Regions from separate parts of the Homo sapiens genome. Here region 2 is linked to region 1. Evidence: promoter capture Hi-C in 16 types of primary human blood cells and fetal thymus (Javierre and others, 2016). All regions are on one chromosome and are shown on one strand. Each heading gives the region's core, a stretch centred on a gene start or on the middle of the fragment in contact. The rest is flanking DNA. Distances are from core to core; before and after follow the strand shown. Region 1 overlaps SNX10-AS1 (SNX10 antisense RNA 1). Region 2 holds the start of HOXA5 (homeobox A5).

Evidence for each region. The method cuts DNA at HindIII sites, captures the fragments that hold promoters and counts their contacts. A CHiCAGO score of 5 or more calls a contact.
Region 2: a contact is called between the fragment with the promoter of HOXA5 here and a fragment that was not itself captured in region 1, in 6 of 17 cell types (neutrophils, M1 macrophages, naive B cells and 3 more). The highest score is 9.4, in neutrophils.

The regions. Positions count from the first base shown.
Region 1 is chr7:26,385,169-26,391,121 of GRCh38, reverse strand. All of the region lies in intron 1 of SNX10-AS1 (SNX10 antisense RNA 1), which reads left to right. Among named protein-coding and RNA genes, the nearest start is that of LINC02981, 10 kb to the left of the region's middle. The HindIII fragment of the contact is 2,407 bases long and covers 2,017-4,423 here.
Region 2 is chr7:27,138,905-27,144,936 of GRCh38, reverse strand. It overlaps HOXA5 (homeobox A5), which reads left to right and starts at 1,256. Exons shown (of 2, transcript NM_019102.4): 1 at 1,256-1,891; 2 at 2,852-3,885. The coding sequence starts at 1,330. The coding sequence ends at 3,102. It overlaps HOXA3 (homeobox A3), which reads left to right. Exons shown (of 6, transcript NM_153631.3): 2 at 4,751-4,854. HOXA-AS3 (HOXA cluster antisense RNA 3) reads right to left here and starts at 4,573. Exons shown (of 3, transcript NR_038832.1): 1 at 4,398-4,573. RefSeq lists an enhancer at 4,849-5,427. The HindIII fragment of the contact is 13,335 bases long and covers 1-2,787 here.

The DNA.
Region 1 (5,953 bases), core at 1,971-4,470:
TAAGCCCAGGAGTCTGAGGCTGTAGTGAGCTAAGATAGCACCACCACACTCCAGTCTGGGCAAGAGAGTGAGACCCCATCTCTTTAAAAAAAAAAAAAAAGTACATTTTTGAAACTTTAATAAAATAGAGTAATTTTAAAAATTAGTTATATTAATTTCATGTTTGAGTAGCTTTATACAAAGCAAACTAAAGTCTAAGTTTTTTAATGCTTTAGCAATATGTCGTCAAGCCACACATCTATATATTTTATTTTTAAATCATTGTCCAAAGCAGCCAGTCTTCATTTTAGCAATACTACAAATAACTAGCACTTGAAAAGTGTATTTATAGAGACTGACAACTGTTAAACTACTGAATGCTTTTCAAAATATATTTTAAAAATTTTATGTGTGAAAACATTTCATGTAAGGAATCTAATTATAAACAATGCTGTTATGTTTATTTCAAACCATCCCAGGCAAGTATATTTGTAAAATTCTCTTCTTTTCACCTAAATTGTTTCAAGCCTTCTACAGAAAGTGTAATGGTTACCCAGTGTGTCTGTCAAGTTCTATTATATGAACTGGAATATGCTTTCAGAAAAGATACCTCGCATCCGATGACAGGCACTTCCTATCTGCTAGGATTCATAAAAATTGGAACACTGATCATTTCTTGTAGAGATTTTCTTTAGCAAGAAGATAAAGGGAAACCTTGTTATGCCAAATGACTTACTAGTCAAAAGTAGCCAGGACATTGAAACCTGGAAACTAGTTAATGGTTTGTAACAAGTCAGAAATAAAGATGTTCAACCAAGAAAATGACATTAAGCAGCACTGGCTACAAGAGAAAAGAGCAGCCTGTCAGAATCATGCAAGGGCTGTGGTGACAGGTAGACAATAAAATGGGATGACACGGGTTCCTCTCAGCAGGGGGTTTTAGCTTTCTCTTGGGAGTTTCCATGCACTTCCTTTGTAGGAAACCTTCTCTCTAAAAATGGCAACAGGCCCCTTGGAGGTCTTATTAAAATTCTCTCCCTGTGTTATGAAGTGTGTTGGATAAGGCAGATGACAGTACCTGAACAGTTAATTCTTCATTGTATAAAGGAAAGTAGGAACAGCGGTCACACCAGGAAGGTAGCTAGGTGGCTGACATAGCCCAGTAATATTGCACAGTAGGCATTGTGGAACAGGAAATGAGTGAGAGGGGAAAATCCATCCACAATCCCACCTAGAATGGCAGACAGCAGGAATCCAAACAGAAGCAATATCATACATATGAATATTTCATATTTAGATTGGTATCCATTATATCTGTAAATGAATTTCATATGCTAGTTTAAATCTCCATAGTGGACAGTCCAACAGCATCATTAGGATGAATATTGTTTTCATTTTTAAGAGAAATTTTCTTTCATTCACTTTCTGCCACTAAACTGCAGCTATAACAATGTATCTCTACCTACCTCATTATGGGCCATAAACGATATGCCAAGAAAGAATGAAAAGAAAGCAAAGAACCCAGTGATTGCCCAATGAGTTCCTTAATATCCGTAATTTCAAGGGTTTGATCTCTACTTTATCCACAATAATGCTATTTCAGTTTTTTACTTAACCTTGTTTCAACACAACGTTATATCATTTCATATATGTTTATTTAAAGAGTTTTAATGTCACTAAACTAATTTCCAATAAAGTAATAGCTGTTAGAACAGTCTTTTTTCTTATAAACCATTTCTCTCTTTTTTATTCTATTCCCAACATATTTTAAGCTGTCTAACAAGATAAGCATTTCATAACCTTTTTCAGCTAAATTTTTTTTTCTACTAATGTGTTTTCAACCAGGGGGAGGTCTGTATTTTCCACACTGCACTTCTACATTTAAAATTATTTCTGCTATAGATTAGCTGTCCCTTAGTGAGCTATGAAAGACAAAATCCTAGCCTCTTTAAGCCCGTCTTGTTTGATAGCATGCGATATTTGCATGAAATAAAAAACAAATATTTGTTCTTTTTATACAAGCTGTCAGCACAAGCTTAAGTTGTTTAGAAACCTATTCAGACAAACAGAATTGGTGTTTACCACATGATATATGATGAAAGGTCAACAATAGGTAAAATCAAAATTATTTTAAAAGAAGAAAAGAATTGGCATGCTTTTTTTTAGACAAGGTCTTGTTATATTATCTAGGCTGAATTTGAATTCCCGGACTCAAGGGATCCTCCTACCTCAGCCTCCCAGGGAAGGGAGCTGAGACTACAGGCATGCACTAGTGCGCCCAGCCGATACGCATTTCTTAAACCAAAGGTGATCGTGTTGTGCCATAAAGTACATAGTACACTGACAATTAAAACTTCTTTGTTTACTTGTTTGTTTAAGAAAGCATGGACTTAATTCGAATTGCTCACTTACCAATGTATTAACTTTAGGTCCACCACAGGGATAGGTATAAGAAAATGTTCTTTGTTACCCTAAAAAGTTGCCAATTAAAGTTGCATTTCAGCTCTTTTCTCCAGGGAGCTTTCTGATAGCCAATAGGAACATATTCTTAAGTCAGGCAAGCTGAGCATTCCTGCTATCACTGCCACCTAATCAGAGCCACTGAGTTACCACCTCCAGTTGCCCAACAGAGTCACGCTTCTGCTTATGAAACTGACGACTTCTGAATATGCAAGAGCGGTGATTTACCACAGGATGCTTTCAGGGACAAATGCACTTTCACTCCACCTCTAGAATTTGCACTGTCATGGCTGCCCTGGGGAATGCCTCAAGCCTGGGGACAAATTTCACCCACCCCTAGATCCACTCTGTCCTGTAGCCACAAGGACAGAACTTGTTCTGCTTCCTGTGGACGGTGTCCCATCTGCTGAACACACATTTTAATACATAAACTCTATTTCCAGGAATAATACCTATTGGTATTAACAAGAAAATAGCATTTCTACAAGACTCTGTGAAAAGAAACCCTGTCAGTGCCACTCATTCTACCTTCAGAGACAAGTCCCTGTAATTACTTTCTCCTTATTTCCTTGTCTGGCTAAAGCAACAAGATCAAAAGAACCTATCCATTTTCCCCAGATACCTTCCAAAATGTGCGTTTGCTTTGCAGTCTGGGATCAGAAATTTCATTATCTGTATTTGTATTAGTAATTCACTGCACAAAGAGAACAGAGGGCAGAGAAAGAGAGCACGAGTGGAAGCAAACATCACAGACAATTGTATATATGCAAATACTTGCAAATTTCTGCCAGCATCTCCCTATCTACAACCAAGCAACATGGAAGTCTATTCATCCCTCCAGCTTCTTTGCTGCCAAATATGGTTGTGGTTCTGGGGAAAACATTCAGAAAATGTTCAACTTTCAGCCACCAGGACTAAATCTAACTCAAAACCTACAACATAAAAGGCTAATGCATAAATAAAATCAGTGATTTTCTAGAAAGACTTGGGATATGCAACATTCTGATACAAAGGGTAAAAAATAAGATTGGCTTGCGAGGGGGGTGGAGGAAGGAAGGGAATGGTTGCATGCAGCTCTCCAACCTAATTGACAGAGAACTGAAATGTTGCCTCTTGTCTGTCTGGGATTGTGCATTTGCATAAATAGCCTAAGTAAGAAGGGGTATAAAAAAGCCGGGAACAGTCCTGATAAAGAAAATGCCCCAAATTCAAATTCATAAATGCAAATGCTCATTTTCAAATATATATGCATAGTGTTTGAAAATGACAGCAAGAATCATCATGTATTTTGTTTTGTCTTGAAATCAATTATTCCCAAACAATAACGGTTTATCAAAATTTTTCATGACTTCCTTTATTTGTAGATATTTATTCTACCCACTGCAAATCACTGATAATGGTAATAATTCACACATATACATGTCTTTCACATATAATAATTCAGTGCATCCTTAAAATTATGCTTTGAGGTAGGGTCAGTATTATACCCATTTTACAGGTAAACAGACCAAGCCTCCAAAGTTTAGAGAGTTATTCAAATTTACATAACTAGTAAATTAGTAAATGGCAGGACTGAAATTCAAACCCTCATGCTTAACTCTGAATCCCAAGAGCCTCCACACCATGATGCTGTGTAACATTACCAAAGATGTAATGGCCTCGGCCATATTTTGCCCCTCAGCAACGTTTGACCCTGCTGGCTGTGCTGCTCTGGAAGCCCTCTGCTTTCCTTATTCTTGGGAATGGCTCTTTGATTTGTCTTCTGCCTCTTAGATTGTCTCAGTCACTTCCAGGGTCTCCTCTTCTGAGGTCTTCTGTCTACCCTTCTTTTTCTCTGCCATCAGTGAGCAATCTCACTCAATTCCACTCCTTCATTTATTAATTCAACAAATATACTTTGAGCACCTCCTATGTGCCAGGCACTAGTCTAGGCATGTGGGATACCACCGTGAACAACAGCCTGTCTCCCTCCTCAAATAAAGCTTATATTGTCATGGGGATGCAGAGGACATAGATAAAAACAAACAGATATCTATTTAGATACAGGTGATTGATGCTATGAGAATACAAAGCAGGGAGGAGAGATGGGGAAGGTAAGGAAAAGGGAATGAAGAAGGAGGTTGCAATTTGGGGTCCAGGAAGGCCTCACTGAGATAACATTTGTGGAAAGATGTCCTTCATCAATTCTCCTCTCAGAAAATTTCTAAATGTTCCTCTCTACCTCTCGCCCTATTCCAACCTCACATTTTCACCTCTGGACATATCATCTCTTCCTGTACCCACATCCTGGCTGCACCTGAATTCATCTTCCCCTTCTCTTCCTCCTGCACCTCTTCCTGTGCTTCCCACTCTAAGTAACAGCACCACTATTCTTTACACCATGAATATGCACCCAGTCGAGAAATACATAAGGGGCCCCTTCTAAGTGAATGCACTCTTGTATTCTAGGTGCTAAGAGAATACATTGGTTTTATAAGAGCTATTTTCTCCTTGAGAAACCATATAGGGTATTAGAAACAGATCTGATTCTGTGTTCAATCCCACCTTTTCCATTAATTAGCAGTAGGTTCATCTATACAATGAGAATAATGGTACCCACTTTCTATTAATGTTAAAGTAGTCCCCCCTCATCCAGTGGGGTATATTCCAAGACCCTCAGTGGATGCCTGAAACCTCAGACAGTCTGAACCACGTATACACTATGTTTTTTCCTATATGTGCATACCTATAATAACATTTAACTTATAAATTAGGCACACTAAGAAATTAATAACAATAATAATAAAATAGAGTGGTTATAACGATATACTGTAATAAAAGTTATGTGAATGTGGTCTCTTTCTCAAAATATTTTATTGTACTGTACTCACCGATTTTTGGACCGCAGTGGATGGCCAGTAGCTGAGACCTCAGAAAGCAGCTGGGGAACTACCGTATAGGGATTAAATGCAACTGCGCAGGTAAAGTCAGCAAGTGAGCGAATGAATGAATAAAACAGTGAATGATATGCTTACTGCAGTGCTTGACATGGGAAATACCCGACAGTTTTAAAAGATGTCATCAGGACCCACTCATTTCATCTCTCAGCTCAATTACCTTTGGTGTGGGCTCCATTTTCAGGCAGTGGCAATATGGGCTTCCCAGAGTTCCAGGCTTTCATCCTATCCAGCCATCCCAGAGGAGGAAAGAGTTTCTTTTCTCAACAGTAGCACAAAGGTCATTGGTTTTGACTGGGCATGTGACCACTTATGAACCACTCATCACTTGGGCCAGGAAAATACAATTGCTCTGATTGACTAGACTTGGGTTACACCCCCTTGTGGGGATGAAGGTTGACTCAGCTCCACTCAAACCACAGGGACTGAGAGTGGAGAGGGGTGGTCCCTGAGAAATACCAAGGGTCTTGCAGGAAGAGAATGGATATTGGGCAGGTAAGATAATGGATGTCCACTACACCCAACTATGGCACCTGATTCATTCTGTCTTGCATTATAGTTAGATGTTTTCATGTTTG
Region 2 (6,032 bases), core at 7-2,506, 760 kb before region 1:
CCTCCGATAGCGCCCGCGTCGCCGCCACAGCAGCGTTCAGGACCCAACGAGGGGCCCAGGGCCATGGGAGCCGCCAGAGTCCTGGCTTCCAGACGTGCCAGGGGCGCCTGCAACGCCGGGCCTCCAGCGGGGAGACTCCACTTGCCTCTCAGCTATATTTGTGATTTACTTGAGTCTTTCGGAGCCGTGGAAAATAACTACAGAGATACTAGGCACTGCCAAGGAATGCTTCCATTATCGCCCTCATTTTACTCCTGGAGGTCTAAGCAAGACCCCAGTAACCCGCCCCACGGATCCCCAGACCCCAGGCAGCCTCTGTGGCTGCAGGGAGCCTGGGCCCACTCGCTGGGTTCAAGGAGAACCCTCCGACTTGGGGCCCGGCTGGCTCGAGGAACCGGACCCTGTGATGAAGATTTTCCAGGCTGGATACGTAAGCAAATCAAATCGCAAACTAATGACACGAAAACCATATTCACACGAAAGAAAAATCGACTACGGTTATAAAAGTGTATGGAATTTGACCTCGCCTTGGAGAAACACTACACAAAAGCTATCTTTAATAGACGCCTGTCATTTAAGAGCGGCAGGGACACTGTCCCTCATGCGCTCGCAAAAACAGAGCCGTAATTGTAGCTGCTGCTGCTGCGGGCAGGATTTATTTCTCCAATTGGCTAAATGGCTTTCCCCCTTCCCCGAAGGTGATATCTGTATTTTCAAAATTCAGAGCTGCTGGCAGGACGGTCAGTACCGACCCCAACCTCGACACAAAAATAAGAGGGGCTGCAAAACGGGGGAAATAAAGTTGTTGTAAATAAAATGCAAGTCACCACCTCCCCCCAATCCTCTGCATCCTCGCCGGGCGCGCGATCGGCAGCTGACGGCCTAACAATTGGTACATCCTAATGGAACTGCGAGGGAAATGCAATAATTTTGCCATAATGGGCTGTAACCTCAATTCGACCCCGGCCCTTGCAGCCCCCGGTCGGAAGCTGGGCGATGAGCCCTGCCTCCAGCGGGTGGCGCTCGAGTCCGGCTGAACGGCGGCAACTGGCGGCGGGCACGCGCCCGGGGCGCGCGCGCCACCCCCCTCGCCTCCACCCAACTCCCCTATTAGTGCACGAGTTTACCTCTAGAGGTCATCAGGCAGGATTTACGACTGGACAACAAAAGCACGTGATTCGAAGTCGTACCCCATATTTGGGTGCCTACGTAGGAGGGAACCAAGTACATGTCCCAGTCATTTCCATAATTCATCATAAATTGTGCAAGGGTGCTATAGACGCACAAACGACCGCGAGCCACAAATCAAGCACACATATCAAAAAACAAATGAGCTCTTATTTTGTAAACTCATTTTGCGGTCGCTATCCAAATGGCCCGGACTACCAGTTGCATAATTATGGAGATCATAGTTCCGTGAGCGAGCAATTCAGGGACTCGGCGAGCATGCACTCCGGCAGGTACGGCTACGGCTACAATGGCATGGATCTCAGCGTCGGCCGCTCGGGCTCCGGCCACTTTGGCTCCGGAGAGCGCGCCCGCAGCTACGCTGCCAGCGCCAGCGCGGCGCCCGCCGAGCCCAGGTACAGCCAGCCGGCCACGTCCACGCACTCTCCTCAGCCCGATCCGCTGCCCTGCTCCGCCGTGGCCCCCTCGCCCGGCAGCGACAGCCACCACGGCGGGAAAAACTCCCTAAGCAACTCCAGCGGCGCCTCGGCCGACGCCGGCAGCACCCACATCAGCAGCAGAGAGGGGGTTGGCACGGCGTCCGGAGCCGAGGAGGACGCCCCTGCCAGCAGCGAGCAGGCGAGTGCGCAGAGCGAGCCGAGCCCGGCGCCGCCCGCCCAACCCCAGATCTACCCCTGGATGCGCAAGCTGCACATAAGTCATGGTAAAGCCAGCCTTTTTCTAAATCCACGCGACCGCGGGGACGCGGCTCTCGGTCCCCCCTCTCTTCTCTGCCGCCCTCTCCCAGTCTCTCTTGGTCTCATTTCTCCCAGCCCTGCGGAGCTCTCCTTGCCGTTCTCCCTCCCCTGCCTTCCTCCTTCCTCCTCTTCTTTGCGAGCACCCTGCGCTCACAAATAGTGGGGGAAATGGGCGTTCTCTGGGACAGTTTAGACGTTGGAAGGGGGAGGAAGCAAAAAACCCCTCTGGAACCCCACGCCTTGGGACGCGCTCCCGGGTCAGGCCAGCCGAGCAAGGCGCAGAGAGGTAGAGGATGGCTGTAGCAGCCGTGAATCGGGCTTGTCACGGCGGATAATTTATGAGGAGGGCTACGCTGGGGAAACAGCGTTACTAATTACAGCCCCCGAAAAGGGGCTTGGGGGAAAGAATCGAGGCGAGAGCCTGCAGGATTCTGAATTTTGGGGGCAGGAGGGAGAGAGAAGGAAAGGGAAGAAAAAGAAAACAGGCTCCCCAACCCTGCAGGCTGGAAACGGGAGGCGGCTCTCGGGGCTGGAACTTTGAGGGAGGGTGACCCGAAGGCCACTTGGGCGCTCAGGAAAGGGCCTTGCTTCCTGGGTTTCTGTGCGGTGGGCAGCCTGGGAGGGCTGTGCCTCCCGATCGGGGCGCCCGGGGCAGGGCGGAGGGGGCAGGAGAGGGGCCAGGGAAAGCCGGAGTCCGCCGGGACACGGCCCCAGCCTCAGATGGGCAGATTGTTCCCAGGGTCCAAATCGTATTGTTTTCTTTCTAGAAAGGAAGAGAGAAGGAAATTCGGGAGGGGTGTGCGGGCTGGTAGGCAGAACTTGTTGAGCTTTTCGCCTGGGTTCCCTGCTCATGACCCAAGCTTGTCCCCCTGGCGGACTTTGGAAGACAGGAGTTGGTGGCTAAACCGCTGACTTTTCTATTGCAGACAACATAGGCGGCCCGGAAGGCAAAAGGGCCCGGACGGCCTACACGCGCTACCAGACCCTGGAGCTGGAGAAGGAGTTCCACTTCAACCGTTACCTGACCCGCAGAAGGAGGATTGAAATAGCACATGCTCTTTGCCTCTCCGAGAGACAAATTAAAATCTGGTTCCAAAACCGGAGAATGAAGTGGAAAAAAGATAATAAGCTGAAAAGCATGAGCATGGCCGCGGCAGGAGGGGCCTTCCGTCCCTGAGTATCTGAGCGTTTAAAGTACTGAGCAGTATTAGCGGATCCCGCGTAGTGTCAGTACTAAGGTGACTTTCTGAAACTCCCTTGTGTTCCTTCTGTGAAGAAGCCCTGTTCTCGTTGCCCTAATTCATCTTTTAATCATGAGCCTGTTTATTGCCATTATAGCGCCTGTATAAGTAGATCTGCTTTCTGTTCATCTCTTTGTCCTGAATGGCTTTGTCTTGAAAAAAAATAGATGTTTTAACTTATTTATATGAAGCAAGCTGTGTTACTTGAAGTAACTATAACAAAAAAAGAAAAGAGAAAAAAAAACACACAAAAAGTCCCCCTTCAATCTCGTTTAGTGCCAATGTTGTGTGTTGCACTCAAGTTGTTTAACTGTGCATGTGCGTGGAAGTGTTCCTGTCTCAATAGCTCCAAGCTGTTAAAGATATTTTTATTCAAACTACCTATATTCCTTGTGTAATTAATGCTGTTGTAGAGGTGACTTGATGAGACACAACTTGTTCGACGTGTAGTGACTAGTGACTCTGTGATGAAAACTGTGACTCCAAGCGGTGTGTCCCTGCGTGCCTTTATAGGACCCTTTGCACGAACTCTGGAAGTGGCTCTTATAAGCGCAGCTTCAGTGATGTATGTTTTTGTGAACAAAGTTACAAATATTGTCCAAGTCTGGCTGTTTTAAGCAAACTGTGATCAGCTTTTTTTTTTTTTTTTTTTTTTTTGTATTTGTTTTTAAGGAAAAAATACTGACTGGAACAAAAAATAAACTTTCTATTGTAAGTTCTCTTGGTCTGGTTTGTGCCAAATAGTGAGCGGCTCTGTCTGCTTTTCTGTCTGTCTGTGCAGTCTTGGAAGCTGTTGGGTCTGAGGCTACCTGAGCAGATGACCTGTGCAGGGAGACCTCATACCAACACTGTCCCATCGCTTCCCTACCTCTGACCCATTGCAAAGTTCAGGGCAGAAGGTGGAAAAAGCTGTAGGCTGTTCCAAAGCCCCAGAACACCCTGTCCATCTCTGAGGAAACCAAGTTAACTTGCTGGGTACAAAAAAGAGAGAAAGAGCAAGAAAAAAGGAGAAAAAACCCAGGGCTTTGTTAGCCGCCCTCAGGCCACACAGATCCTGCCTCTTTCCTAAGGCTGTCCTAGGCCTCCACTTGCTGAAGACGCTGCTATGTCTGTCTGTGGACCCCAAACCCTCTGCCCTTAACCCATCCCAGCACCCCTTCCCCACTCTTCACCCGGGACCCAGTTGGCTTCTTTTGCTACAATTAATTTGCTACAAATTGAAGGTACTTACCCCATCCTAGCTCGATTGGGAAACTCCTCAGAGCAGCTAAAGCGCAACTAGAGATTTGCACATTTACCGACTGCTTACACTGATGCCGTCTTTCCTTTTAAAAGTTATAAAACAGTAAACTTTATAAGCCCCAGTTCCGGCTATATGACATTTGGGTGCCAAATGAATAGGGTTTTGTCTATGAATTAGATCGTAAAATCATCCATAGCACAGACAGATCGGCTCACTGGCTATAAAACGTCACGTGGGGCCATTAAAGTAAGTTTTATGGTTTTGGGGAGTTGACATCCAACATTATATACCACATAACATATAATCTCACTAACGCTGGACTCCATTTGACTCTTTTGCAGGCTACGTGTGCCGCCTGGCCATTCAAACTGTCAATTTTAGGTCCAGAAGTGTCCAAACCACAAGTTCTCAAAACTCTCTGAAAAATGGCTCCCTCCGAGTTAAGGTAAGCTCGCCTCCTGAGCGCTTTCAAGTTTATTTGTACTTTGGAAACTTTCTCTCTCTCTCTCTCTCTCTCTCTCTCTCTGGTTCAATAACTCAGGCTGCCTCTGAATTCGAAAAGGCAGAGCAAACTTTCCCTCTGCCCAAAAGAGCAGCGCCAGGAGCCAACTCTGCGGAGGCAGCAGAGTGAGCAGCGCCTGTGGCCGCGCCGCATCCCCAGGCCTAACTTTAATTGCAGCACAACCGCGGATGTTAATGACTTCCGCTGCTCCCGCCGGCGTGCAAAAAGATGATTTTTGTGTGCGAATGGGCCTGTGTGTGGGGACCTGGCAGGGCCGCACCCCCAGTCCCCCGCGCAATTGCTGGGCCGGCCGGGGCCAGCTCCTGGGGGTCGCGGAGCCCTGGGGTCGGGGCTGGGAGACAGTGGGGCGCCGGCCGCGGGCGCCGAGGGCCGCGCTGCGCTCAGGAGTTTGAAAGAAAGGCCGGGGCAGGGCCGAGGCGGACTCTGGCGGGATTCCTTACGGGGCTGTGGCAATATGTCTTCGCGGGCCGGGGTCATTTGGCAGGGCTGAATTGAGGCGGCGGCCTTCGGGGCCGGGTTTCAGGCTAGCTCGCGAGAGCGGGAGGGTGGCAGAGGCCGGCGAGGCTGGGGCTGCACCTCCAGGCTGGGCCCCCGGGTTGCAAGGTGGATCCTGGGCTGCTAGCGCCCACTGGACCCTGAGGACCAAGGATCCCCACCCTGGTGTGGGGGGGTGTTCAGGACCCCCTCCCCCGCACCCGGGACCAGGCCCTGAACCCTGTTTGCCTGCATGTTCTTTTTATTTCGGCGGGACTGTTCTCAGCCGCTTGTGAGTCTGAAGCAATAAACTTTATGGCCGGATTTAACTTTAGTCTTTGAATCCCCAGGCTAATTGAAAGGGGTTAAAGCGCTTTCTTTTCTTCCGCTTTGCCTTTCTTCTCCCTCTCTTCTTTCCTGTTCCTCTCCTTCTTTGTAGAATTAAAAACATCTACGCACAGGACCCTCAGAAGGCAACTTAGGCGGCCCCCTGGATAACATTAAGATTGGAGAAATTCACTCCCCCTCAACATACAGGCGAATTCTCTGTTCCAAACTGTGCTCTAAAGTTTTGGGGGAAATTGAGGTGTCTTCAGTGCCCAACTTAAAAGTCCCCAGAGCCATTA